2 separate regions of the Homo sapiens genome follow, and region 1 is linked to region 2. The links are contacts of gene promoters, found by promoter capture Hi-C in blood cells and fetal thymus (Javierre and others, 2016). All regions are on one chromosome and are shown on one strand. Each heading gives the region's core, a stretch centred on a gene start or on the middle of the fragment in contact. The rest is flanking DNA. Distances are from core to core; before and after follow the strand shown. Region 1 overlaps CSRP1-AS1 (CSRP1 antisense RNA 1). Region 2 holds the start of PHLDA3 (pleckstrin homology like domain family A member 3).

Evidence for each region. Contacts are between HindIII fragments. The CHiCAGO score rates a contact against its expected background, and 5 or more counts as called.
Region 1: a fragment that was not itself captured here is called in contact with the fragment with the promoter of PHLDA3 in region 2 in 1 of 17 cell types (monocytes); the score reaches 5.0 in monocytes.

The regions. Positions count from the first base shown.
Region 1 is chr1:201,515,840-201,518,539 of GRCh38, forward strand. The region is part of intron 1 of CSRP1-AS1 (CSRP1 antisense RNA 1); the gene reads left to right. All of the region lies in intron 1 of LOC124904484 (a long non-coding RNA gene), which reads right to left. Among named protein-coding and RNA genes, the nearest start is that of CSRP1-AS1, 10 kb to the left of the region's middle. RefSeq lists an enhancer at 2,512-2,700. The HindIII fragment of the contact is 1,771 bases long and covers 442-2,212 here.
Region 2 is chr1:201,467,814-201,470,513 of GRCh38, forward strand. PHLDA3 (pleckstrin homology like domain family A member 3) reads right to left here and starts at 1,375. Exons shown (of 2, transcript NM_012396.5): 1 at 528-1,375. The coding sequence starts at 973. The coding sequence ends at 590. RefSeq lists enhancers at 555-614, 685-824, 1,046-1,760, 1,275-1,394 and silencers at 895-1,204, 1,415-1,644. The HindIII fragment of the contact is 14,509 bases long and covers 1-2,700 here.

The DNA of each region.
Region 1 (2,700 bases), core at 77-2,576, 48 kb after region 2:
GTTTTAGAGTCAAATCATGAACTGAATTCCTTCAGGGCAAAGTTATTTCCACCTATGCCCAGGAATGAACAAGGACAGCTTAAAGGTTAGAAGCAAAATGGTTAGGTAGGTCTGATTTCTTTACTGTCATAATTTCCTCAGTTATAATTTTGCAAAGGCAGTTTCACAAGCAACCACAAGGCATAACAGCTATCATTTGGGGGTAATACAGGGAAGCAGGGAGCAGTCATCATGCATGAGCAAGAGCTGGGTCAGAGATAAGACACAGCCCCAGGTTAGAAGGCAGCTTCACAGAGATGAATAGGGAGTGAGATCAAGGACCACAGCAGAGGTTGACAGCCCAAGGCCCTTGATGGCACTATGACCTGAATGTCCAGGATCTTCCATGTCAACCACCAACTTTATAGGAAAGGGTGCACGAGCCAGGAATAATGGTGGTCAAGCTTGGCTGTGTGGGAAATAGGGAGTTTGCCTGCCTGGCAGCTGCTGAGTGTCTCAGTAGTGAGCTTCCAGCTACACAATATCTGGACCCTGAGACCCAAAGAGGAAGGAGACTTTGGCTTCCTTTACTATGGGCATTCTGTGACCCACCCTGGCAATGAGAAGGACTAAAGAACTACAAGATATTAAATCTACCTTATGTTTTTCACTTGCTTATGAGCACTGGAGCTCCATCACCTGAGCCCCCACTAAGTGCAGATGTATGTGACTTTAGAAAGGTTAGATTTACTCTTCATAGCTCAGGGTATAAAGAAGTGGTCCCAATAAAAGTTTCCTTTGCTACAGGGGGCTGAGGACAATCATGAGGTTGTGAACTCTTTGAGGACAGGATTAGATCTTGGTCAATATCTGTATGCTCAGTGCCTAGGGTAGCATCTAGTTCATGCAAGGAAGGAAAGGAGAGAGGAAGGAAGGAAGGAAGGAAGGAAGGAAGGAAGGAAGGAAGGAAGGAAGGAAGGAAGGAAGGAAGGAAAGAAAGGAGGGAGGGGGGGAGAGGGAGGGAGGGAGGAGAGTCAGATAATACAGAGAGGCCATACCATGAATTCTTAGTCATACCTGACCTGGCCACTCCAGGAGCGCCAGAAGAGTTGCTGGAAGCCCACATAGACATATGGTATATGATAACATTTTTTTTTAAAGAGATATAATTCACATGTCATATGATTTTCCCTTTTAAAGTGTACATTTCAATGGTTTTTGGTATATTTACAGTTTTGCAATCATCGCCACAGACCATTTTAGAACATTTTATTAACCTAATAAGAAAGCCTGTACCCATTTGCAATCACTCCTGCTTTTTCCTGCAACATCCCTAGCAACTGAAACTGTCTTTGCAAAAATTACAGCAATGAGAAAATTATCACAGTGAAAGAGATCCGACCTAATTGACTCCATCTTGCTTCTAATCTCCAAGCTGCCCTTGTTCATTCCTGGGCAGAGGCTAAACTAACTTTGGGAGGAATTCAGCTTATAACTTAACTTTGAAGCAAAGATGAAAACAGCCTTTTCCCTTAACACAGCCCCTTCTTGCTTGGGGACCAGACTGCTTGTGTAGCACTAACAAATTAGCCTCAAGATTAATGCTGACAGTCCGGGCGCACAGTGGCTCAGGCCTGTAATCCCAGCACTTTGGGAGGCCGAGGTGGGCAGATCACCTGAGGTCAGGAGTTGGAGACCAGCCTGCCCAACATGGTGAAACCCTGTCTCTACTAAAATTACAAAAATTAGCTGGGAGTGGTGGCGGGGGCCTGTAGTCCCAGCTACTCGGGAGGCTGAGGCAGGAGAATCGCTTGAACCCAGGAGGCGGAGGCTGCAGTGAGCCAAGATCGTGCCACTGCATTCCAGCCTGGGCGACAGAGTGAGACTCAGTCTCAAAAGATTAATGCAGACAGGCCACGAGATTTTGAACCTCCCCCATTGCTCCGAAAGATAACATCACTATTGTAAAACCTAAGATCAGTGCTCCAGACATTTTTCACACTGCATTCTGATGCACCAGCTGGCCCCACCCAGATCGGTAATCTGGCTCAACCAGTTCTGGGATCTCACCCAGGAACAGAGGACAGGAAGAAAAATCCCACTTTGACCCCCTATGATTTCATCGCTGACCCAGCCAATCAGCATTCCCCACTTCCTGGCCCCCTACACACCAAATTATCCTTAAAAATTCCAGTCTCCAAATTTTCCAGGAGACTGGTTTGAGTAATAATAAAGCTTCTATCTCTCTTTCACCAAGTTTTTGTAAATTAAACTCTTCATTGCAATTCCCCTGTCTTGATAAATCTGCTCTGTCTGCGTATCAGGCAAGGAGAAGCCATTGGGTGGTTACACAAGTACTTATCCACTTTATGTTTCTATAAATTTGCCTGTTCCCTGTTCCGATTTTTTTTTTTTTTTTTTTTTTTTTGAGACAGGGCCTGGCTCTGTCACCCAGGCTGGAGCACAGTGGCGCAATCACGGCTCACTGCAGCCTCCACTTCCTGGCCTCTAGCAATCCTCCTGCCTCAGTACCCTCTACCCCCTTGCCCAGTAGCTGTGACTACTACAGGTGCAGGCCACCAAGTCTGGCTAATTTTTATGTATTTTTTGTAGAGATGGGGTTTCGCCTTGCTGCCCAGGCTGGTCTCAAACTCCTGAACTCAAGTGATCAGCCCATCTAGGCCTCCCAAACTGCTGGGACTATAGGTGTGAGCCACCGCG
Region 2 (2,700 bases), core at 125-2,624:
CGCCATCTGGGAGATACTGTCTTTCTACATCAATTCAATGCTCAAACTTTATGACAAGCATTCAACCTAGAGGGAAAGAGGGTCGGCCTCCACGATCCGCGTCCCCACCCTCGGTTGTCCTCAGCTGCCAGAAAGCCGAAGTCCAGGAGCCCTGCTCTGCGTGGAAAGCAGAGGCCCACAGCCTGGGGCAATGTGCAGGCCAACCTCCCTCTACTTCCTTCCACCTGAGTCAGGGCTGAACCAACTTGAAAGAAGGCTCATCTCACCCAGGTATCCCCCTCCCAGGGCTTCCATCTTCCTCTCACACACCTGGATCACATTCTGGACCGGCCAACCTGGTGCCTCAGGGGAAAGTCCGGATCTGCTGGGTTGGCCACTGGCCCAAGCCTCCCATGCCCTCAGTTGGCCCCAGGAACCTCCCCCCTAAGATGTCCGGCTCTGAAGTAGAATGCTAGTCCTCATTCTCTCTGTAGGGGAAAGAGAAGGGAGGGAAGGAGAGAAGAGGGCCCAGTCCCCCGGGGGCTTACCTGCCTTGACCTCAGCACTGAGGTGGTGGGTAGCATGAAGGAAAGATGGTGCGCCCGGTGGTTTAGGACACGAGGGTCCCGGTCCCGAGGCTCTGCCGGGCCCGCACTGTCTGGATGGCCTGCTGGTTCTTGAACTTGACCAGGCCTAGGGTGATCTGGGCGTTCCAGCCGGGATCTTCCAGGGGGCAGCGGAAGTCGATCTCGCCGCCCCCTTCGGTCACCAGCGTGAAGTAGATGTGGCGCCCGGTGCTCTCCACGCACTCCACGGCCTTGATGCGGGCGAAGCTGAGCTCCTTGGGCCGGCCGCCCGTGCCCTTGGCCTCGAAGAGCTGCAGCCCGCGTTCGGTGAGGACGCAGCGCTTCCGCTTCCACAGCTGCAGCAGCCCGCCGCTGCGCTTCTCCAGCACGCCCTCCTTGAGCACGGTAGCCGTCGCCGCCGCCGTCATGGGCGCCCCGAGGTTCGCGGAAAGCTCCAGGCTGCGGCGGGCGCGGCGCCCCTCTCGGCCCCGCAGCGCAGGATTCTGGCGCCCCGGGCTGGCAGGCCGTGCGCGCTGCCCACCTGCGCCCTGACTGCTCCGCGCACCCACACCGCGGCCCTCAGCACCCGGCTGCCGGTGAGGTGGTGTCGGTGCCCCCAGCGCGCTCCGCGCCCACCGCCCCGCTTCAGCCGGCACCCGCTCCTCCGCTCTACCCCAGCTGGCCCAGCCCGACCCGCCTCTGCCAGATGCCTCCGCGCCTCCCTAGGCCGTGAGCCCCACCGCCCGCCCGTTCTCTTGCTCCCCTGGGCTCTGTCTGCGCGCTGGGCGGCAGCTCGCGGGATGTGCCCTTACATGTTCCGCCGCTCGCCTCCTGCGCCGCCCGCCCGCAGCGCATTCCTACCCTGGCCGGCCCTCCCCTCCGCGCCGCGCACCAGCTCCGGCAGGGCCCCGGGGGCGGGGCCGCAGCGGGGGCTCAGTCACTCACTGGAGGCGCAGGGCGCGGGGCGGGGAGGGCCGGGACTGAGAGGGGGCTGCTTACTCAACAGCCCAAGCCTTCTGGCTGCCGTCTGCCGCTTCTCGGAACCGCAGCTCCCCCAGGCCTTGAATGAAGGGGGAGATGGCGGGGAAGGGAGGGGGAAGGCGCATCTCCTCGATTGGAGAGCGCGCTGCTAGCAAGGGGGTGGGCTTGCTTGGCGAACGCGCAGTGGCACCAGTTGCATGTTAGGCGTCAGACAGCTGCTGGTTACTTGGCACGCCATGGGGCCCCCAGCCTCTGCATCAAGCCCATGTTGGGTTCCTCCTCCATCGCCCGATTTCTCTGTGCAGCACCCAAGAGAGGCTGTCCATCGCTGCCTCTGCTTGGACAGTTCACCTGCTCCTACTCCTACCCCCATGCATTGCGCGGGGAGGCCTGTAGAGAGTAGCCAGTGCCAACAAAGGAGAGCTGAGGCTTGAGGTCATTCATGCCCTCCTCGTAGTGGGGGAGGAGGGACCCCCTCCGTGACCTGGGGATGCCACTGTCTGCAGTCCTCTCCACCGCACACTTGCAGGCGCCGACGCTGGACCGATGGCACAGCCAGTCCCAGGTGTAAGCGCAGCTCCAACCTTGCTCCTTCCGCTCCGCAGATTCTGTCCTCCCTCGGCCTTCCCCAAGAATGGACTTCTCCCGCATACAGAGCTGGAGGGGAACGCAGAGGGAGAGGTCTCTTTCTGTTCTGGCTAGAATATTGTGTAAACACAAGAGCTTTGCAGAGTTGAGTTCAAACCTCTTCTCCCTTGTTGGCTGTGTCCTGCCCACCTGGGGCAACTTTACTGACCTCCGTCAATTTCCTCATCTGTCGAATAGGAGGATTAATTTATTCTCATCTCATGGGGTTGTCCTGATGAATAAGTTGGATAACATTTGTGAAAGACCCAAGACAGGACCTGACAACTCTTGAGTCTCAAGAAATGTTCTTCCTCCCCTCTCCCCACTCTTATTCCCTTTAGAGAATGATGGGGGCCCTGAGATTAAGCCAGGCACTGGAAGAGGGCTCTCTTAGGTCCTCATTCTGTCCCCATCTTGATCAGTTCCTCCAGGCCCACAGTTTCTTAAAGGTCTATTCATCAACATGTTAATAATAGATTCTTACGGGAGTAATGATATATAATAATGACAGTAATAAGACCTCTTTGTACTTACACCCTGTGTTGCC